6 separate regions of the Homo sapiens genome follow, and all the other regions are linked to region 5. Evidence: promoter capture Hi-C in 16 types of primary human blood cells and fetal thymus (Javierre and others, 2016). All regions are on one chromosome and are shown on one strand. The core of a region is centred on a gene start or on the middle of the fragment in contact, and the rest is flanking DNA. Distances in the headings are between cores, read along the strand shown.

What was found. The method cuts DNA at HindIII sites, captures the fragments that hold promoters and counts their contacts. A CHiCAGO score of 5 or more calls a contact.
Region 1: the fragment with the promoter of RSBN1 here is called in contact with the fragment with the promoter of MAGI3 in region 5 in 2 of 17 cell types (fetal thymus and naive CD4 T cells); the score reaches 6.5 in fetal thymus.
Region 2: a contact is called between a fragment that was not itself captured here and the fragment with the promoter of MAGI3 in region 5, in 1 of 17 cell types (fetal thymus). The highest score is 5.4, in fetal thymus.
Region 3: a contact is called between a fragment that was not itself captured here and the fragment with the promoter of MAGI3 in region 5, in 1 of 17 cell types (fetal thymus). The highest score is 5.4, in fetal thymus.
Region 4: a fragment that was not itself captured here is called in contact with the fragment with the promoter of MAGI3 in region 5 in 1 of 17 cell types (erythroblasts); the score reaches 5.5 in erythroblasts.
Region 6: a fragment that was not itself captured here is called in contact with the fragment with the promoter of MAGI3 in region 5 in 1 of 17 cell types (endothelial precursors); the score reaches 7.4 in endothelial precursors.

The regions. Positions count from the first base shown.
Region 1 is chr1:113,810,648-113,814,174 of GRCh38, reverse strand. RSBN1 (round spermatid basic protein 1) reads left to right here and starts at 1,699. Exons shown (of 7, transcript NM_018364.5): 1 at 1,699-2,465. The coding sequence starts at 1,763. AP4B1-AS1 (AP4B1 antisense RNA 1) reads right to left here and starts at 1,563. Exons shown (of 5, transcript NR_125965.1): 1 at 1,350-1,563. PTPN22 (protein tyrosine phosphatase non-receptor type 22) reads left to right here. Exons shown (of 21, transcript NM_015967.8): 21 at 1-364. RefSeq lists enhancers at 1,299-1,828, 1,565-1,954, 1,829-2,358, 2,335-2,424, 2,575-2,634 and 1 more. The HindIII fragment of the contact is 4,966 bases long and covers 1-3,527 here.
Region 2 is chr1:113,790,600-113,794,194 of GRCh38, reverse strand. The region is part of intron 2 of RSBN1 (round spermatid basic protein 1); the gene reads left to right. Among named protein-coding and RNA genes, the nearest start is that of RSBN1, 20 kb to the left of the region's middle. The HindIII fragment of the contact is 1,015 bases long and covers 1,073-2,087 here.
Region 3 is chr1:113,872,648-113,876,337 of GRCh38, reverse strand. The region is part of intron 3 of AP4B1-AS1 (AP4B1 antisense RNA 1); the gene reads right to left. Among named protein-coding and RNA genes, the nearest start is that of PTPN22, 2.8 kb to the right of the region's middle. The HindIII fragment of the contact is 3,793 bases long and covers 139-3,690 here.
Region 4 is chr1:113,124,786-113,128,461 of GRCh38, reverse strand. It overlaps LRIG2 (leucine rich repeats and immunoglobulin like domains 2), which reads right to left. Exons shown (of 18, transcript NM_014813.3): 18 at 1-3,676. It also overlaps the pseudogene RLIMP2. Among named protein-coding and RNA genes, the nearest start is that of LRIG2, 53 kb to the right of the region's middle. The HindIII fragment of the contact is 252 bases long and covers 1,585-1,836 here.
Region 5 is chr1:113,388,285-113,392,306 of GRCh38, reverse strand. It overlaps MAGI3 (membrane associated guanylate kinase, WW and PDZ domain containing 3), which reads right to left and starts at 1,792. Exons shown (of 21, transcript NM_001142782.2): 1 at 958-1,792. The coding sequence starts at 1,273. RefSeq lists enhancers at 747-796, 847-1,346 and silencers at 1,027-1,186, 1,247-1,376, 1,787-2,146, 2,177-2,226, 3,216-3,460. The HindIII fragment of the contact is 2,966 bases long and covers 299-3,264 here.
Region 6 is chr1:113,647,680-113,651,430 of GRCh38, reverse strand. It overlaps MAGI3 (membrane associated guanylate kinase, WW and PDZ domain containing 3), which reads right to left. Exons shown (of 21, transcript NM_001142782.2): 13 at 2,103-2,194; 14 at 225-417. Among named protein-coding and RNA genes, the nearest start is that of PHTF1, 110 kb to the left of the region's middle. The HindIII fragment of the contact is 627 bases long and covers 1,215-1,841 here.

The sequences.
Region 1 (3,527 bases), core at 450-2,949, 420 kb before region 5:
TCAGATCATGTGCAATTTTTATCTAACCAATCAGAAATACTAGTTTAAAATGAATTTCTATATGAATATGGATCTGCCATAAGAAAATCTAGTTCAACTCTAATTTTATGTAGTAAATAAATTGGCAGGTAATTGTTTTTACAAAGAATCCACCTGACTTCCCCTAATGCATTAAAAATATTTTTATTTAAATAACTTTATTTATAACTTTTAGAAACATGTAGTATTGTTTAAACATCATTTGTTCTTCAGTATTTTTCATTTGGAAGTCCAATAGGGCAAATTGAATGAAGTATTATTATCTGTCTCTTGTAGTACAATGTATCCAACAGACACTCAATAAACTTTTTGGTTGTTAAACTGACTTCATTGCAGTAGTGTTTAGGTAATACTTCTCCAGAAACTAGTGAAATCAAACCACAGTAATTTTATCTGCTGAGTATATATCATTGTAATCAATTACTTCCAAATGTCTTTATCAATAAACAAATATACTAAAAGAATTCTAGGTAACCATGAGTTACTTAGGGCACCATGAGTGCATCTGTAGACCCAGCTACTCATTCCTTGAGCCCAGGAGTTGGAGGCCAGCCTGGTCAACAGAGCGAGACCTTGTCTCTTTTTTTTAAGAGTCAGGGTCTAGATCTGTCACCCAGGCCAGAGTGCAGTGGTGCGACCACTCCTCCCACCTTAGCCTCACGAGTACCTGGGACTACAGGCGCGTGTCACGACACCCAGATAATTTAAAAAATACTTTTGTAGGGACAGAGGCTCACTATGTTACCAACGCTGATCTGGAACTCCTGGCCTCATGCAATCCTCCCGCCTCGGCCTCCCAAAGCTCTGGGATTACCGGCCTGAGACACCGAGCCCCGCCCCGCCCGTCTCTAAATAAATACTTAAAAGAACCCCAGGTAAAAGCTAAAGCGAGGATGAAATTCTAAATGAATTTCTGAGCAACAACTATCCGTAGTGAGCAGTGATGATTTTTGGTGTGTTCTCCGGTAGGCACACTTTTCAAATTTATGCAATCTTATCCTTAAGATTTGAAAAAAAAAAACTTATAAAAAATCTTAAACGTGGTTTTCCATCTACAATTTTTCGCAACTGTAGGGATATATTCAAAATAAATGCTGGACATTTCCAGGCATTAGAGGGGATGTGGCCGGATGGCGAGGAGGGGCCGTCCTCACCAGGACTCCAAGCAGTTCTCGCACCTGACTTCGTAGGCCTGTAGTTGTAACCATAGCAATGCCCCAGATGCTTGAAAACATTTCTGAATTGCGGCCCTATCATATTTTTACAGCAAAACCACCCTTATTTTACATATTACTAAATCCTCTTTTCACCTTCATTTCATCCCTCGTCAAAGTTAAAAGGATGAAGATTCTTTTATCTCACAAAGGTTATGAGAGAAATATTAAATTTAAAATCACTGTGGAGACCACCTCCTCCGTGTAAAATGAGGAAGGGTCACAGGAAGATGATAATGGGAACGCGCCGCCAGACTCTGAAAGCCATTAACATTGTTTCGGCCGTTAGGGCGGTTGGCGGCAACTCACCGCCCAGCGGCGGTTGCGTCGCAGCCAGAAGCGTGACTTCGCGCACGCTCCCTTTCCACTCCTCCACTCAGAGCCGGGGACGCGGCGGGGGCGCGGCGGAACTACAGCTCCCATGACGCTTTGCGCGGCATAGGGTGCTTTACAATAGAAGCTCGGTTGGAGAGGCCTGCGGAGAAAAGCTGGGAACGGCCGCTTCCGGCATGTTCATCTCTGGACGAAGAACGGCCGACAAGTGGAGGGCGGAGGAGAGACTCCAATGCCCAGCGGGCAGTGCGCGGGCGGCGCTTGCGCGATGCGCGGACGGGGGGGCGGTCGGGCCATTTAAATGTGTGTTTGTGGGTGAAATGGCTGCGCAGGTCGGAGCGGTGCGCGTAGTACGGGCGGTGGCGGCGCAGGAGGAGCCGGACAAAGAGGGGAAGGAGAAACCTCATGCTGGGGTCTCCCCGCGGGGAGTTAAACGGCAGCGCCGATCTAGCAGTGGGGGGTCTCAGGAGAAGCGGGGGCGGCCGAGCCAGGAGCCCCCTCTCGCTCCCCCTCACCGGCGGCGTCGCAGCCGCCAACATCCTGGGCCGCTGCCGCCAACGAATGCAGCCCCAACTGTCCCAGGCCCTGTTGAGCCTCTTCTCCTGCCGCCTCCGCCGCCACCTTCGCTGGCACCCGCCGGGCCCGCTGTCGCTGCCCCTCTCCCGGCCCCAAGCACCTCGGCCCTCTTCACCTTCTCGCCTCTGACGGTGAGCGCGGCCGGGCCCAAGCATAAGGGCCACAAGGAGCGGCACAAGCACCATCACCACCGCGGCCCCGATGGTGATCCCAGCTCCTGCGGAACCGATCTCAAGCACAAGGACAAGCAGGAAAACGGCGAGAGGACTGGAGGGGTGCCTCTGATCAAAGCCCCCAAGAGAGGTGAGAGCAGGCAAACTGCCCGGCTTGGGTTCTAGGTCTCTCTCAGTTCCGATATCCCGCATCTTTAGGACTGAAAGACGCCAAACCCCTGCTTACCTTCTGCTGCTGTACTTCTCTAAGCTCACTGGGGTGGACCCTGGATTTCAGATCGTTGACACGGTTTGATCTAACTACTTGAGGCTTCTCGCTCCGAGGCCGAGCTGTCAGTTGCTAATCCCTTTACCGGTCCCCCGGAGCCTCTCAGCATTTGTTTTCAAATTCTGCAAGGTTTCCGCGCCGCGTTAGATTAGTAGGTGGGGTACTAAAAAATGCCTTTCCAAAGAAAAGGCATGTTCCTAAAATCCCTTCTCCTTGTTTTGCTTGCTGGAGAGCTTTAGTTATCTGCTCTCCCTTGCTCCAGAATAGTCAGGGGTATGGTTCCAGTCTTTCAGGAGGGAATTCATATAAAGGTTACACGACTCACTGGTTGACTTAGCTTCTGCAAGGTAAAATATCAGACGCAGTTTATCTTGGTTCTTTTTAATCTAGAGGTAAAAATCATTTTAAAGTTTTCATATTAGCTATTTAAATTCTTAGAATAGGCATGTGGAAGGTTTTCTCTACCCTTTGATACTAGGAAATAGGACCAACAGTGCCTCTGAAAAGTGGGAATTTGTGCAGTAGATAGTAGAGGCCGGAATTTCAGTTGCATTTGATTCTGTCTAGCACACTTTGTGGATCTGTTAATTCCAATAGCCCTCAAGAATATTTTACTAGAAAATGTCAGAGTATCCAATTAAATGTGGATTCTAGAAAAATTAGATTGGCCAGAACTGATGTCTTCCTGTTCCCAAGTACCTGTAGCATTTATTTATATTCTTTGTGGAAGAAATGTGATGCTTTTGATTATGCCGTATGTTTGTACTTTATATATTATTTTATATAATTTACTAGTTGTTTTTCCTCAGGAATATTTGAAATACTTGTTTCTTAGTACTGGACCAGTTAGGTTATTACATGTTAATGAGACAATCTTTCAACCTAAAGTTTTGTGAGTCTTGCATTCTTTCCACGTATTGAGTC
Region 2 (3,595 bases), core at 331-2,830, 400 kb before region 5:
AGAAATTTGAGAAATAATTAGAAGGTTGAGATTTAACTAGTCTTGGTGAGAGAGAGAGATAGTCTTCAGATGTGGTTTGGACAAATGGGTGGATGGCGATGCTGGTCAAAGCCAATACATGGTTGAAAAAGCCGGTTTCTGTGGCTAGAGGGTGTTGATGAGCTCAGTTTGAGATATTTTGAGTTGAAGGTACCTGTGGGAATTTACGGTTAGAAATAACTGTTAGGAGGCTGGGCATGGTGTCTCACATCTGTAATCCCAGCAGTTTGGAGGCTGAGGTGAACAGATTGCTTGAGATCAGGAATTTTGAGACCAGCCTGGTCAAAGTGGTGAAACCCCATGTCTACTAAAAATTCAAAAATTAGCTGACATGGTGGCGGGCGCCTGTAATCCCAGCTGCTTGGGATGCTGGCTTGAACCTGGGAGGTGGAGTTTGCACTGAGCCAAGATCACGTCACTCACTCCAGCCTGGGCGACAGAGCAAGTCTCAATAAAGAAAAAAAGAAAAAAAAAAAAAGAACTCTTAGGAATTGAATGTATGGATCCAAGTTTGAGAGATGTGTCTAGGTTGGAGATGCAGAAGTTGAACCCATTAATGCAGGAGATGCGGAGATGCAGAAGATGGAACCAGCAATAGCAGTGGAAAAGAGATGAAACTAAGGGTGGAATCTTGTGATGCATCCACAAGTAAGTATGATGAACATGGGAAAAGACCAAAAAGAAAGGCAGGCAGAAGAAAGACTAGAAGTTTTCTGCATTTTAAGAATGAAGTGTTTATTTTATCCATATGAAGGATCCAGTAAGTAAGGATGGGAAAGTGGTAGGTTTATCAATTAGGAATTGAATTGGAGACATGATCAAGATTAGTGCTTTGCAAACCGTGGACAGGTAAATACTATTGTAAATTATGCCTTTTCTTTAGAACCTTGCTACTAAAAGTTTGCTCTATGTATGAATTTGGCACCACCAGGGAGCTTGCTAGGAGTGTAGACTGGGCTCTTACCCAGATTTTCTGAATCAGAATCTGCATTTTTAAAAGGTGATTCATATGCACATTAAACTTTGAGAAGCTTTAGAACTCAGCTCCTCTAAGCAGGAGAAAGTAAAATGTAGATTTTGTGCAAGAAAAATGAAAACTTCTGTTATTTTTATATTTTTAAATTATTGTGGTGGCTAAAGCTAGGATCCACATATAGGGTTTTCTTTTAACATTCTAGAAAACTCAAATGTTCTAATACCAGAGCAGAAAAATTTATATGTCCATTGAAACAGTAAGCTGATCCTTGTTTGATTACTTAACTCTTAGCAGTTGATACAGGATAACTTTATAAAGTTGAGTTTCCTTCCTTCCTCCCTTCCCCTTCCCCTCCCTTCCCTTCCTTTCTTTCTCCTTTCTTTGATGAGGTCTCGCTCTGTGGCCCAGGCTGAAGTGTGATCATGAAGTGTGATCATGGCTCACTGAGGCCTTGAACTCCTAGGCTCTAGTAGTCTTTCTACTGTTTCTTACTCCACTGTACCCCAGTACATAAACTTCAGGAAGTGGTGGAACTCAACTTGTTCTTCGCTTTCAGGTGCTATTTCCAGTGCCTCAGCCTCTAGAGTAGCTAGGACTACGGGTGTGTACTATTACAATTGGCTAATTTAAAAATTTTTTTATAGAGCCAGAGTCTCACTATGTCGTCTAGGCTAGTCTTGAGCACCTGGTCTCAACGGATTCTCCTGCTTTGGCCTCCTAGCATGTTCGGATTACAGGTGTGAGCACTAGCTTTGCTTATAGTCTGCATTTTCTGGTGATGCTGATGTTGCTAGTAAATGGACCACCAAGGCCATATAGGTCTCAAAATCTGTACATAAATTGCAAGCGCAAATAATAACAAACACTAAAAATACAGTGAAGTTAAAAGGGAATTGTTTTCAATATCACCTCTGAGATCTTCTGGCAACTAAGTAATTGAAGGATGTACATGGAGAGGAGTGTGTGTTATGTGTTTGCTGGGGGTAGGGAAGATTGGCAAATCTGCATGTTTTAAGTATCTTTTTCAAAAATTTTCATATATAATTTTGAGGTTTCACTGAGAATCAAAGCTTTTTAACTTTAGGTAGTTTTATTTCTTATATTACTTTTATTACTCTATAAAATGATAATGTTCTGTAGCATTGGCGTGTATAATTTTAGTGTCTACGGTTCCAGAGAAAAACAAAAAATGTTATTCCCTCGTTGTGTGTTGGGACAAGGCCTTATATGGGCTTGTTATATGCACTCTGATCTTTGATTGATTAACATTTTATAATGAATTGGTAATACTAATAAGAATAGAACTAGTAGAGTAGTATATAGCTTGGGAAATAGCTCAGAAACCCTTAAGGAACTGTATGCATTATTAGTGTGTTATAGAAAAGGAGAAATAAACATTTTAAGTAGCAGGTTTTATAAAATAAAATGGCATAAATAAAAATGGTAGGCTTGATTCTTTTTTTTTTCCTCTTATTTTAAGTACTCACTTTGACCCAGTCACACTGTTTTTTCACTATATATTTTAAAGTAGGAATGCCTTTCTATTCACAAGGCACAAGGTTAGGAAGATCGCTGGCTAATTTTTTCCTTTCTGTGTTTTAAAAAGTCAGCTTGAATAGGCTTCTTCCTGAAACGTGAGTTCTGTGGAATAATCCACACCCGCTCTCAACCCCCATACACAGGGTTTTCCACATAGTGCTTTTTTAGCTTGGTGTTCTCCTGAGTTATTAACAGATTTATAATTGTCCTTTGTAGAAGCTCTATGTATTGGGGACACAGTTGAGCTTACTTAATTCAGAAATTCATACAGGATAACTGTGAAGTTGAGTTTCTAATTTAAACACTACATATGTATTGACAGCAGTATATATATTCAAAGATAATTGTTTAACATTTTATAGATATTATAAAGAGAATAAATTTTATGCAAAACTATTATTTTTTTTAATAGGCATATTTCTCTTTGATGCCACATCCTTCTCCCCTCCCCACTTTGCCTTCTGATTTTACCAAAGACTGTGTTTTTCCTGTTGGCGTTATGTCTCCTGCTTCCATGGCAGCTTTAGTTTTTTCTGTTCTTTGGTCTCGTACTTACCTCCCTCCAGTCCTCCCAATTCTGTTTGTTCCTCCACTGTGCTCCAGTACATAAACTCCGGAAAGCTGTAGAATTCAACTTGTTCTTTGTTTTCAGTTGCTATTTCCAGGCCAGAGTTTCCCAAACTTGCCAGATCCTAAGAATAATTTGGGGTTGCTAGTTCAAATATACATTAGACTCTCAGGTTCCTCTTCTGGAAATTTTGGTTCATGAGGTCTGGAGTGAGGCATGAAATAAGTACCTTGACCGACTTGATTCCTATGATCAGGCAAGTTTAAGAAACACTGTTTTAAACCATATACCATCTACCATTACTCTAGTTCCTTTCATTTGACCTGTAGATAGCATCTTTTTAGAATTTCAGAGCATCATAAACTAAGAGATAATCTTATCTGACCTCTACAAAGTGCAAATTTTAAAAAATCATGTTTTGATTGGCCATCACTGGGGACTTTGTCTCTTCATGACATTTTATAATGCTTCCC
Region 3 (3,690 bases), core at 786-3,285, 480 kb before region 5:
TATGAAGTCTGCAGCAGGTGAACTGAAGGACTTAGTGAAGTCTCAGAATGCTGTAGTGACAAGCAGTAGATTGAAAGATGGGTAGGGGGACTTTTCCTACCCGGGATGATGTGAAAACATGAGAAAATCAAACAAGCTTCGTTAAAGGTATTTTATAAGCCTCTTCTGTGTTCATTTATAAAAGGAAAAACAAGCCTACTCTAGAGATAAAGGAGGTCATTTATTTCTGGCCATTGCAGTTCTTCAGAGATGGACTCTGAAGCTCAGTATTGACACCATTCCTTTCATAATAATAGCCCTGCTGCTTGGGCAGCAGCATTCAGGAAAGTACCCTTTGCCAGGTTCCTGTGCCTCCATGTAGGAAGGCCCATCTGCTCCTGGCATAATGAAAGTGCCTAGCTAGAGACAAGAAGCACAGACTGTGCCAGACAAGAGACTTGGAGTAATTGATATAATGAGTAACCAAGTGAGAGTAGATCCCTCACCAAAGCGTAACCACATTAGCTACTTTATCACAACAGACTTATTTTTAGGTATACTCAAGACCATGTTAAGCACTGTGGGTTATACAAACGCATAGAATACACTATCATTGCCTTTGATAAATCTGAAAATACAGGGGACATCTTTTGAATAAACTCTTAAATAAACTTATAGGAGACAAGGAAATTGAATAAATGAAAACTTCTATAGCTGAATATACAGATTTATATTGAAGAGATTCAGACTAAGGGAAGATCATGGCGAAACAGAGTTAGGGGCAAGATTTTTGAAGAAAAATTGAGCTTTATGGTTTTATTTTCATTGTGGTGAAACTTAGGGGTAAAGGTGAGAAGTAGAAAAAAGTGGTAGTAGAACGAACGAGGTCTGTAGGTGATGTGCTTGGATAGGTTGGGTGGGGATAGTTGACAGGGAGGGGCTTGGTGACAAGCTAAGGAATCTGGACTTGTTCCCGTAGATCATCAATAACTATTCTGATTCTTTAGCATTAAAGTGCAGTTTTAAGAACTTTCATCCAGCCTTGGTTAACAGGAGATACTAGAATGGAAACATATAGATAGGAAGATACTCTAAGTTTATTGCTATAGGAATCCGGGTGTGAAAGTGGGAATGGGGCTAAGTGGGAATGGAAAAGACAGGTTGAATCTAAAAGACATTGAGGAGAAATTTCCAATAGGCCTTGGTGATCAAAAGAATGCTTACAAAGGACTGAATGTTTCACAGACAGTATATATATCCCATATCAAATCAATGACCCTGGAATGTAGGGAAAGGCAAGAGTAGTGAAACTAAAGCTAAGGTTGGGTAAGTATCTTCTCCAGGGTAAAACATGTCTCCCCCTCATCTAAAAGACAGAAGGATGTTCTGAGAATCCTGAATGTTTTTCCTATTGAATAGTTTATCTTACCCTTGTAGTCTTCCCTGAAATTCTCCTCAATTAATGTTTATTGTAATCTAATTCCTGACCTCTGTGATACTGATATTTCCCCTTAAACTAGCATACTCCCCTCTTCTTGGAACAGGTGACATGGTGACCAGCACTCTTCTCTGTTGTGTTCTTCCTTCTGACCAAGCACTACAGCCACATGAGGCAGCAGTGAGATGTGGCCTTGTCACTCCTCTTCAGGTGCTTATCCACAATTTACTTCCCACAATTTACTTGATGGTTCTGGCAAAATGTTTGTGAGTCTTTTTTTATTGCATGGAATTGTGTTCACTTAGGTTTTATGCCAGACTGGTTTAAATGATTCATCATAAATTCTGAAACTCTTTTAGGTATTTGCCAACCTTTACTGCATGTCTTGTTTCCCCTCCCCAGCTCTTTATCTTCCCGCAAGATACAAATGAGTCAACACAATCTTCATCAAAAAGCATTGTGCTCTGTAGAAGGAAGTGTGATAAATTAAGTAGTAGCTTATTTTTTTAAAAAAAAAATAATAGCTCCAGCTACTTGGAAGTCTGAAGTGGAAGGATCACTTGAGCCCAGGAGTTCCAGACTAGTCTGGGTAACATAGCAAGACCCTGTCTCAAAACAAAACAAACAAACAAACAAAAAAACCCAAAACAAAAAAAATAATTAAAGTTTTTTGTTTTCTTCTTCAGTTTGTTTTTTGCTTGCTTGAGTGGTCTGCTCAGGAAATGGCCTTGTAGCTAAGTGGGTTTTGGGGGTTTGGTTATTTCACAATGTCTCTATACCTTTTGGGTTTACAGTAGAATAGATTGCTGCTTGCTTTTTTAAAAAAGTGTGAAGTTCTGCCAAGACACTATTTACAGATTCTTAGATTTTGAGGAAAGGGACTATGGAGGCATCTAAGCAAAATTTTTTTTGTTATCTCCTATTTATTTCTGTCTTCTCCCTCATTAAGAAGAAACAAGAAAGTTAGTAAGAGATTGTGCTGAAATATAGGCTTGAGAAAAATAGATTTAAATTTTATTAGGCAGGTTTGCCTCATCAATTAATAAAAATTAATAAAGTTCTAGTTTTGTGTAATTGAGGACATTCTAAGGGTACAGAGAAATTATAAAACTATATTATCTTCTTTGTCCAAACATAGAAAATCATTTTCCTTTTAGGATTATGCTTTGCTACTCTGCAATTAAGCAAGTTAGTTTGGAATGTTTTTATTTTTATTTTCTTTCCCAAAGTTACCTAAGGAGTGTTTTAATTTTTATCAGTAATCATGTCTGTATCTTTAGTTCTGAGTTGCTTTATTAACTGGCTAAGGATGTTTTTGTTTTGTTTTGTTTTGTTTTTACCATATTCTGGCTTTCTCAGTGTTGTATGCCAATCTCCTAAGACAATGTTTAGAATTTAGTGGGTACTCAATAAATTTGTTGAACAACTTAATGGATTTTTAAATGTTTATTTCTAATTTTAAAAACGGTATGATAATTTTAGAAAGCAAACTTTATCATAATTCTAAAATTATGATAATTTTAGAAAGCAAACTTACACAATTGATTCTTTTTTGCTTCTTTTAGTCTTTAACTATGTACACACTTTTACATGGTTTTAGTTATTACAAACTTGAAATTTTGTATTTTTATAAATCAAAGATTTCCCATATTTTATGTTTTAAAATAGCCAAAGTAAACATCACGTTACTTAGAGCAGCAAGAAATTCTCTCTTAATTCTAGATGGGGATAATTTAAGAAATATACTATTCCTAACAAATATTGCTGAAGAATGAGGGTTTATTTTAATTTATGTATACTGGGATTGAGTTTCTTAATTTGAAATATTGTCTTTAAGTTGTCTATAACCAAGATATCTCGATGATCTTTCTTTTTTTTTTGCAGTACTTAGTAAAGAGCATGCAGTATCTTTAATGTTCAGATTAAGCAGTGTTCAGAATCATGATATCCTGAAGGAAGTTTGAATAATGTTGCAAAACAGAAAGGATTGCTAATATCTTAAATAGAGGAAGTCCTAACAACACATTTCCCAGTTTTCTTCAGGATCAAGACTAATTTTGTTAACATTTGTTGAACTTCTGCCTTCAATAAAGATGATATACTGATTTTTGGATGTTCTCACACTGAATTAGGCACTTGGGTAGACTTGTACCCATTGAGAGGTTATGCAAGCTCAAATGTGGAAAGTTTTTCTAGAAGAGCCTGCCTTTCAGGGCCAAAATGCCACAGGCACAGCATAACTTCCTGAAACAAATTTATTTCCTAAGACATTG
Region 4 (3,676 bases), core at 461-2,960, 260 kb after region 5:
CTCATTTCATAAATGAGAAAATCTAGCCTAGAGAAGTAAAAAGACTCACCCTTGATTACAAAGCCAGTAATAAGCAGACTCAGGAAGCGTACAAGGTCTTAATGAGTCAGTCTAGTACAAACTACACCATAATCTAGTAAGAAAGGAAGAAGAGGGATCGCAGATTGAAGGGATAGGAAATTGTGATCTTTAGGAAGTTCAAAGTGAAAATGATCAGAGGCTGACATAGTAAAGACATAAAAAGGTGTGGCAGTACTAAACAGCTCAAGAAGTGCTGCTGCCCATGGGAGAACACTTAGGATTGAAAATAAGTATGAATAAATGCTCAACTTTCTGGCAAAAAGTTGAGAAATTATGTGAGTTTGGAACCCTTGAACCAGGACTTAAAAATAGATATTTTTATTTAAGTGGCTGAAATTATCTAGTGAGTAATATTGGATTTAGAAGAGAGAACTGGACAGGAAGTGTAAGGAAATCTGAAAGCACAAAGAAAGAATTACATTGCATTAGAGTGTGAAGTTATTTACCTAAAGCTCTTTGGTATCAGAAATTCAAGAAAATTTTTGGCTTAATCACTTGTATAAAATAAGGACCGGCCGGGCTCGGTGGCTCACGCCTGTAATCCCAGCACTCTAGGAGGCCGAGGCGGGTGGATCACCTGAGGTCAGGAGTTCGAGGCCAGCCTGACCAACATGGAGAAACCCCGTCTCTACTAAAAATACAAATAAAATTAGCCGGGCATGGTGGTGCATGCCTGTAATCCCAGGTACTTGGGAGGCTGAGGCAGAAGAAGGGCTTGAACTCGGGAGGCAGAGGTTGCAGTGAGCCGAGATTGTGCCACTGCACTCCAGTCTGGGTGACAGAGCGAGACTCCGTCTCAAAAAAAAAAAAATAAGGACCACTACAAGGCTTTACAGTATAAGAATTTTGGGGCCAGGCAAGTGGCTCATGCCTGTAATCCCAGCACTTTGGGAGGCCAAGGCAAGCAGATCACCTGAGGTCAGGAGTTCAAGACCAGCCTGGCCAACATGGTGAAACCCCATCTCTACTAAAAATATCAAAAAAAAAAAAAAAAAAAAAGCTGGAAATGGTGGTGTGCCTGTAATCCCAGCTACTTGGGAGGCTGAGGCAAGAGAATTGCTTGAACCTGGGAGGCGGAGGTTGCAGTAAGCCAAGATCATGCCACTGCGCTCCAGCCTGGGTGACCGAGAGGGACTCCATCTCAAATAATAATAAAGAAAAAAGAATGTTTGCATGTTCTTCTACTCCCAAGAGCACTCTTCCCTTCTTAAGATATACTGCACATTGGTAAAAGATTAAAAACAAAACAAACTTGGAAAAGAAGCAATCTTTGGTTTCCTGGTCAATGAAGAACTTTGCTGAAAGAAGATATTCCCATTCAGAGAAAGCACAAAGTGAACACAACTAGAAACAACTGAAACTCAGTCTGGTATTTCAATACTGTGTCATAACAGCCAGACAACTTTCCAGCTGTTCTTCAAGACAGAAAACTCAGATTCTGACAATGAAGAAGATGGATGTGGCCCAGTGCAGAAGTCGGATGGACAAATGGTTCCAGAAGCTTTCTACTTGCAAATAACCTGAGTGATGAAGATTACAGGCTTATGAGTGATAACAATTTGCTAGGCACTATAGGTGAAGTACAGAAGAGTTGCTGAGAAGGTTACAACAAATTAAAGAGGATTCCCCACAAGAATCAGGTGAAAACAGAGGTGGATGACGTCTAGCACTAGTAATGGGTCTGTAATAAAGTGGCTTACCTCTTTTGGGCAAACTGAAAATATGACAGGAAGTAAGCAAAGAGAAAACCAAGCTTGGACAGCAGTGAGCCAGAGTAATCCATATAGTGGTAATTTCAGATTCAATGTAGGGATCAATTTTATCCTTAATAATGGAAGGCTGAATACAGAAAATGAATATGCATCATCTGCAAGATTTCCCAGGGGAGAAAATAGGGAAAACAGAGGAAAGTGGAAAATCCACAATCTGAGTCAACATTTGCAAGGCCACCTAGGTCAGGTACAAAGTGCGACAGAAGTATTAATGAAAGTTCCACTTACCAGAGGTCAGAGAAGACTGAGAAGCAGGAGCCCAGACCAATGGAGAACCAGAGCGAGAAATAAAAGTAGGTTCCCTCCAAATTCATGGTGAGAAATTTCACAAATATTTCATGATAATATACATCTCAGACTTTTGAATGACCCCTGGTAAATGAGACAGAGATTTTCTAGAACTCAGCAACATGAGACATTGAGAGAGCAAATAACTGACCCATAGTTGCAAAGTGGCATGTTTTTGTAGCTTTTGGAACATGGAATGCCTTTCCAGGAAAACGTTCTCCAGACACAATCAGAAATGGTGAATCTGGGGCACTGAGACTGAGAAATCCAGTCATAGTCCTGATTGTGATAGTAGGAAGAGTTCATCATGGGGAATATTTGCCAAGATATAGCACACCTAATAGAACCCAGTTAACATCTCCAACACCAAACAACAGTCACTTTAGAAAGTGAACAAAGAGAACTCAGAAATAATATTTTCACATTCTGAGCAAGCAGGTGTGAGCACCTATTTCACTACCAAAAGAATTCCTGTTCACAGAATTTCAAATACTCATTTAAATAATACACCTGTTGCAACTCAAAGAGCATTAAAGCAGACAATGACAAGATTTGCAGACTCAAATATGGACAGTGATAGTGATTTGTATCCTAGCGGCTCACCCCAGTCAGAACATGGCAAGAGCAAAGTCACAGAATGAAAGAGATGGTTCTGATATCAGCAACTGTTCTGGCTCCAATTCATGTCACAGTACTGCTTATGAGTCTGACTCAAGTTCTGCAATCTTTAAATCAGCCTCCAGTTTTTGAAGCGTTCATTATACATAAAGTAACAACCCGATCTAACTCATTGGTTCCTGAAGGAATGACTGAACCTTCCTCAATCAATTTCTGTTTCAGTAAAAAAAAAGAGGGAAGGAGGGAGAGGGGGAGGAAATGAAAGGAATTTCCAAACAAGTTTTCCTCTAGGTGCATACAGCTGTGACAGGACTGCCAGGCTCTGAAAGAACAAGCTTTTTATGTTAGAAAGGGAGTATCACCTAGCACTTTTAAACAGATGGCAAATGACCAGAAGTATGAACCTCTAGGCATGAAGAAGGCGGTTAATTACACCAAGACTGTGTTTATGTGTATACAATCACTAAGTAGCTGCCTCTATAGATACACTTCTTAACAAGTAAGTTTTTAAAACTTTTTATTTATTTATTTTACTTTTGAGCCAGGGCCTCACTCTGTCACCCAGGCTGGGATGCAGTGGCTTCACACAGCTCACTGCAGCCTTGATTTCCCGGGCTCAAGTGACCCTCCCACCTCAGCCTCCCAAGTAGCTAGGACTACAGCAGCATGCCACAATGTCCACCTATTTTTTTAATTTATTTTTTTGCAGACACAGGGTCTCACCATGTTGCCCAGCCTGGTCTCAAATTCCTGGCCTCAAGCAATCCTCCCACCTTAGCCTCTCAAAATGCTGGGATTACAGGTGTGAGCCACAGTTTTTATACTTTAAATAAAATTTTTAGATCTCACTAAATTGAGTTATTTAAAATCTGTGATCTGAGAAGCTACTTGTCAATATTATAACTGGATATTACATA
Region 5 (4,022 bases), core at 543-3,042:
AATAATGTTACAATCACAATTCTCTCTCCCACAAACATCTAAGACGACAGAACCACATTCTATCTATGCTGAAACAAAACCAACAATGCTGTCTATAACAAATTCATAAGAACTACTACATACTATCAGATCTCACTGTATGCTGTCTCTGATCAATGCTTTGAAACTGACGAGTATGCCATAAACATAACGTGCTTTGCAGCAATTTTTACTAGCATAAAAGATACCAGGGCAACAGAGGCTCCTTTAACCTACCACTTCAACAAAATTCTGTAAAATCAAAAGCGTTACAGAAGCTTTCACTCCGCTAGGCACCTAGGTCTTCCTGCAAAACCCAGACTCTATTCAACAGCTCCCTGCAAGAACACACCAGTCTGCCACATATCACATATTGTACCGTCATCGGTACTCAGACACCTGAACCACCTGGACTGACAGAGTTAGGCTGTCAGCTCTGAGATGTCTGCTAGAGTGCAAGAAACACTGAAGCAGCTAAGCCCTTCCAGGTACACCAGGTGGTAACCTTGGCACCAAGTGCCTCTATAGTAAAGTCCCTTTTTCCCTGTTAGAAGATGCGTAAGATCGTTCCAAAGAAAATGTTACAATCCTAAGGGCCTTTTTGCACAACACAGGAAAAGGCTGGCCTTCTCTAGTCAAAAACTCTTGTCTGCGGGGGGAGATGGAGCTACAAATGTAGGAAACCCAGCTTCTAGTCGCAATTCTGTGACAGCTAGCACAGCTAGCAGAGCAACCGCGCCAAGCCAGAGCTCAGTTTTCCCTTCGGCAAAATGGGACTCACCAACGCCACCCCTCCCCCTCGTCAAGGAGTCTGGCACACCCTAGAGGTCTAAGATTACCCGGGACAATACGCGGTGGGGAGGTGCCGCCGCTCCCAGGACGCCCACCCTGAAGCCCCTCTCCCCAACACCCCGAGACAGATACGCAGGGCCGGCGTACCTGGTTTCACAGTCTTGAGACGGATGGGCTCGCGGAAGTGGCGGATGACAGCCAGGGTGTCCCGGTTGGTGAGCCCGCTGACAGGCGTCCCGTTTACCTCCAGCAGCACATCGCCTGGGCTGGGCGCCTTGCCCGAGACGACGCAGCAGGTGCCCCCGCCGGGCTCCTCGCGGAGCCGCCCCAGGTAGGGGAACTCGCCACGCTCCGCGCCACCGCGGATCTCCGCGCCGAAGTCGCCCGGGGGCCCGGCCCAGGACACGGCGCACTCCTGCACCTTGCTGAGCCAGTGCTTCTTCTTCTTCAGCGTCTTCGACATCCCGAACCCCGCTGCACCATGGGGGAGACCCCGCGCGGGCGGCCGGGGCGCCGCTCCGGCCCCGTCTCAGCCCGGGGGCCCTGGGCGGCCCGCGCAGCCCGGTAAGGGGGGCCTCGCCGCTCCGGCCCCCACCCCGCGACCACAGCCCGCTGGGGGCCCGGCCGTTCCCAGACGCGAGACGCCCCTTGGACGCCCCTCCCGGCTGCGCTCCCCGGGGCTGACCGGACTCCGCGAGGGCCACCGCGGGTTAGGCTGAAGAAAGGAAAAGGGAATTGTCCCCAGGAGGTTCCAGAAGGGGCTTCGGGCGGGGTCACTGCCGCCGGCTGGTCCCTGGGCTCAGCGCCCGAGCGGCGGGAAAGGCTGAGGCGGGGGGGCGGGGAGGTGAAGGGGGAAGAGCCGGGAACGGGAAAAATCCGTGGGGGGCGCGCAGAAGCGCGCGTAGACCCGTCGCGGGATCGATCGTGGCCGCTGCGGAGCTGTAGCGCGGAGACCAACGCCTGCCCAAGCTGCCAGGAAACTGCCGCTTTCAAACCAGCCGCAACCTCCTCCTCCTCCCTTTTCCCTTCCCCCGGCCCTCGCCCATCCCTCATCCAGAGCCCCGCCCCCTCCCGCCGCGCGGCGCCCGGCGCGCTGCCGTCACAGGCTGGGCGCTTGGGAACGAGCCCCGGCCCTGGACTCTCGCGCCAGGGATTGGCCCCCGGCGGGCAGGAGGCGGACCGCCAACGAGAATGGGGACCACTGGTTGGTCGGTGCGAGTGGAGGAGGCGGGCACTAGAATGACTGAAGTTTAGAGAGGGTGGAAAAAAGAAGTTTGGAGAGTGAGGGAGGGCGCAGAGGAGGGGCAGGGGAGTGGAAGGGGCTGTAGGTCGCAGGGCCGGGAGAGGCCCTCTGCGCGGCGGCTGGAGCCGAGGAAAACTCGAATCCGAGAGGGACCGAGCTCCCCGAAGTGGGGGCGTGGCCGGCGAGTTAGGCGGAGACGCGGGCGGAGCCTCTGAGCCTGTGCGGGGCGCAGAGAGGGGCCGGTGTGCTTAGATTGGAAGACAACGTGCGGAGTCCTGAGCCGGCCGAGGTTCCGGGGCCTTTAGGGTGGCCTGTTACAGCCGATAGTTTGCATTGAGTGGATATTGCTTGTTCATTCGTTCATTCAACAGATGTTACTGAACGCCCATTGAGGCAGGGCTTCGGAGTCCGGTTGATGAAAGATATTATAAAATAGAGTCCGGCACTGCTGTATGACCTAAGACAAATTAGACAACCTCTCTGAGCCGCAGCGTCCTCAGTGAAAAGTGAAGATTACAGAAGATGTACAAAATAACTGCATAGTGCCTGACAGTGGGTGGTTGCCTCTTAAAGTTTGGTAGCTGCTGCTGCTGCTGCTGATGACGATGACGATTTTGTGTTAGATATTGTGCTAGGTACTGGGATTCAAGGGTGAAGAAAACAGAAGCCCCGCTATTGAGGAGGTTACAGTCTAGTGGGAGAGACTGAGAAGTAAGCAGACTGCCTGAGGTGAGGGAGTGGGGTGGAGGTAGAAGGTGGATTATTAAGAACTAACCTGGTAGCCAGCAGATCTGGTTGGAGTCCTGACATGCTACTTACTTGCTGTTTGACCTTGGCCAAATCTCAGTTAAAGGAGGTGAAGGGAGAACGAACATTAAATAAAAGATATCGTAGATCCCTTCCAGCTCTAATTTTTCAGAAATTTCACTTGAGCTTTCTCTCTTCCCCGGCTTGACTTACACTCTTCCCTGTCTTTGGAATGCCCTTCATCTCATCTCTTTTAAAACTCCTATCCGTCCTCATCCCAAATGCCGGCTCTTCCAGGTAGCTTTCTCTGATTTCTTGCCCTCAAGTGGAAAGTGTTTTCTCTGAGCTATGATCTTTGTTTCACTTTTGCAGCATGACATTTATTTGTGTAGTCTCCTGTCTCCCTTTAATAGTAGGTGAAAGCCCTTATAAAACTCCACACCTCAGATAGACTGGACCAAGCTTCAATAGCTGCAGTGATTTCGTTGACACCATTGTATCAGTCAGGGTCCTGGCAGGAAACAAATGGCATTTTGCAAAGATGTGGGCAGGGTGTGGGAAACCACAAGAGAAGCTGGAACCCTGAGGCTACAGCTCCTAGATCTGTCCAATCGGGAAAGAACAGTTACCGAAAAATCCAGACACACAGGGCCACCTGACAGGAGTCTGTGACCTTCAGTCAACGGATGCAGTCAGCCTAAGTAAACACCCAGCAAAGGACCTGGGGGATTTATATCTAACTCACCACCCTCCTCCAGTCTCCTGCTGGTGCTTGTCAATGGCCAAGTCCAACCAGACGCCAGAGGGCAAGGGAGGCTTTTGATATAGTTCATATCAGTCAGTTTCAGAAAAGGAAACAGTGCATCTGAGGGGAAAATATTCAGCACAGACACCATGTGGATGGCTCAGATTTAACCATATCTGAGACAAAGCTTGGAGTATTTTTTTTCTAAACTACTACCTATACTAATGGATTCCTGGATAAAATCTCCATAACCTACACATCATCTGTTTTTGCAGGAACTCTGGGAAAACATCTTTCTGTGTCTAGATTGCATCTGTTAGAATGCCTTTGGCCTCAAGGAACAGAATATTTGGCAGTAGCTTAAAGCATGAGGTCATTTACTATATCTTCAATATAAATTTCAAGTGCAGATAGTTTCAGGGTTAGTTGAGCAGTACAATCATGTCATCAAGGACCCAAGCTCTTTTTTGTGTTTGC
Region 6 (3,751 bases), core at 279-2,778, 260 kb before region 5:
AAATAATCTTAATATAGAAGCCCAAAATTTATTTTTTTATAGTAGTATTATTTCTGAATCCTTTTGTGTTTGCATAGCCTTCCACAGTGAGGCCCTGGATCACACCAAATGGGTTATCTTAGATACTACTGAATGTAATAAAATAACCTGCAAAACTACACAGGAAGTAGACTAGTATCTTTGTTTCTTTTTTAACTTTTCAGAGCAGGAACAAGTTCACACACCTCCATAGAAGATCTTCCGTCTGACAGTTAGTAACACATGGCCATTTCGAGCAGCAGTTGTCATGAGGTCCAAGACTTGTTTGTGTGATTTCCCTTTAACAGGAATTCCATCAATGCACATTAGTTCATCAGCTGCGCGGAGCCGACCATCTTTCTCAGCTGCTCCCAGGGGAATAATAGCCCCAATATATATCTGATAAGATAACAAAGTACAGTTTGGTCCACAGTGTAAAGTTTAGCTGAAGAGTTAAGGAATTCCTAACTTAGCATTGTGCAAACCAACAGATTTTTGCAGTTCAACTATGAAAACAGTTATATTTTAGAAAGGTATTATCTGAGAAAGTGCCCATTCTCCAAAATGGCACTTCAAATAACCACATTGTATTATGTAATCCCTTATAGATCCTCAGGGCTGTGTACAAAGAAAATAGAAAATACAAAGTTGTTCGATAACTCAAAAAGCACAACCATTATCCCTATCATTACAATGAAACAAAACACTAAACTCAGAAAATATAAATCTGCAGAGTAGCTATTAAAAGTCTGTTCAATGTCATCAGGCAAGATTTTCTACATACTGTTCACAGCAACTGGGATCATTCTCAACAGTACTCCCATCACATATGACTAACGGTACAAGTTCAATATACACAGCACAGAGACATTTCTTGTTTCTAAATCTCAGCGGGAACAGAGTGGCCTGAAGCTTCACTTGCATCTAGGTGAACAAATCTGGTTCATTTTGCTCACCAGCATTAGAATCCTGTAATTAGGCAATCCTGAATGTTTAGGCTAGTTTCAGAGCTGCTAAAATCTGACATTTAAGAGAAAAGAAAGGTTTCTTCTAAGTTGTTTGAGACAAATTCTTAAAATGTCTAAGTGAACATTATGAGTATCAACAAAATAGGAAGCAATAAAACAAAAATACAAATACCAAGAACAATTAAAGTATCTAGTATTTGTTCTACATAGGGCAACCTGCCTTAAGCTTTATGTGTCTCCAATGACTGTTGTAACTGTAACCAATATGACCAATTAGAACAAATTTATACTACATAAATCAAATGTTCTATTCAGAAATAAGAAGCCTGTAATTTTTAAAGATTATTGTTCTTCACCTAACTTCCAACCATATTTTTTGATATATAATATATTGATATTATATAAAATAAAATGCAAATATGTTCTTAAAAATGCTACAGAACACATTACTTCTTTGTTATTCAAACCAAGAGCAAAACTTAGAAACAAAACCCACTACATTTGTTCTCTAAAACAAGTTTATGTGAGAATCATGTGTAAACAAAATCCTAGACTTCAAATGCTTTGCAAATATAACCCTTATGCCTCTGGACAAAAATATTAATTATTTTATATTCCTCTAGTTTCAAAGGTAACAGATGAAATGACATGCAAAGTACTGAGCATGAAAATGCCAACCTATTAATAAGACGAGGTGAAACAATATGCACAGGCTCATGCCAACCATTTATGGAGCATCCAGAAGATAGAGTAATAGTGGGAAAGAGGACATGGGATTATAGGCTTCTTAGAGAAGGAAAATGTCTTAGACTCTGTTTAATGAGGGCAAAGGAAAATATAAACTTAAAATAAGCTTTATGTAGTTATTCACACAGAGAAGTAAATAAATTAATCACTGTCTAATTTGCAGCTGACATATTCAGTTTTTACCCACAGTTTTTAGCCTCAGCTACACCACAATAACTGAGGGACTATGATAATAATGGAAATGCAGTTATTCTTCATATTAATGAAACTGTCAGAGAAAAAAAAACTTAAAACACACCATAATCCACCAAATCACCACTCAAAACGTTTGAACAGGAAACAGCCATGTTCCAAAGAAGTGACACTTACAGACTGGTCAGGTCCATCTCCTCCTAGCACCCTGAAGCCAAACCCTGACTCTTGTTTTCGAAGAAAAACATCCAAATCTTTGGTGTTTGGTGCTGAGGAAAATCAGAAAATATAAATACTATGATTTATTTTAAAAGGATTAAAACAAAACAAAGTTCAGTATTTAGTAGGATATTATAGAGTAACTCAATAAACTATAATCTCAGAACTTTTTAATATGGAAAATTTGCACAAGAGTGTAACACACACACACAATTCAACTATAAATCCTCGTTTTGAGCTCTAAACAAAACTGTATGAAGACTGTTTAGAAACATTTACTCTCACTTCCATATACTCAGTATTACACTGCCATTAACTTCTAATGCTGTCCAATCAATATAACAATGTTGAATTCAGAATGATCAAACTTGAGTTTGATATTTGACAGGTGCAAATGACCTAAGTTAACACTTGGGTAAGGTACATTAAATCTGTACAGGCACTGCTGTATAGAGTGCCTGTAAAATACCTTATTCCTGCTCTCAAGCTAATACCTTTCTCTCAGAAAAGTATTCCATATGAACTACTTACCTAGCCTAGTTTTGCAAAATGATAGCATTTTAAAGGAAAATAATTAAGAGCTAACATTTATTATTAGCCCCATTTTCTAGGTGGGAAAACTGAGGGTGTAAGTAAGTTGGCCATTGTCACATAGCAAGTGGTGAAGCTAAGATTTAAATCCAGGTTGATTTCCAGGGTCTAATCTCCTAACTCATACTGTCCTACCCTCAAAGGGTAGGTTGTATTCCTTAGAATATTAAGCAGGAGGATTGCTTGAACCTGGGAGGCAGAGGTTGCAGTGAACTGAGATCGTGCCACTGCATTCCAGCCTGGGCAACAGAGCAAGACTCCATCTCAAAAAAAAAAAAAAAGAATATTAAGTCACAAAAATCTATTTCATGACTAAAATTTTTCCTTTGGGAAAATATTAATGTTATTTATAGGTAAGAAGTATTTACTGTAAAGAGAGAAGAAATAAACATGTCAGGGAACTATGTAAAAAGTGAGATTAGTAAATTCCTGATAATATTCTATAGAAGCAGTATCTTTTGATATATACTTCCTATTAAAATTGTAGAACTTTAGAGATTAAAAGAGTCCACTTTGGGAGGCCGAGGTGGGCGGATCACGAGGTCAGGAGTTTGAGACCAGCTTGACTAACATGGTGAAACCCCGTCTCTACTAAAAATGCAAAACTTAGCCAGTCATGGTGGCATACGCCTGTAGTGCCAGCTACTCAGGAGGCTGAGGCAGGAGAATTGCTTGAACCTAGGAGGCAGAGGTTTCAGTGAGCTGAGATTGTGCCACTGCACTCCAGCTCCGGGTGACAGAGCAAGACTCTGTCTCAGGGGAAAAAAAAAAAAAGAGTCATCAGTTCAACTCACTTATTTTATGGGTGAAGCCTGATGGGACTGCAGAGTTTATACCAGTATTAATAATGTATCAGGCTATGAATGGAAAGTATGAAGAAAGGGATTCTACATTGTTATGCTAATTTAAATTATTGCTTTGCTGGGCGTACAACTGGTTTTCATCTTTCTGAATATGGCTTGGGATTATCAAGATGTACTTCTGCAACTAGTTAAATAAGCATTAAGTCAACTATA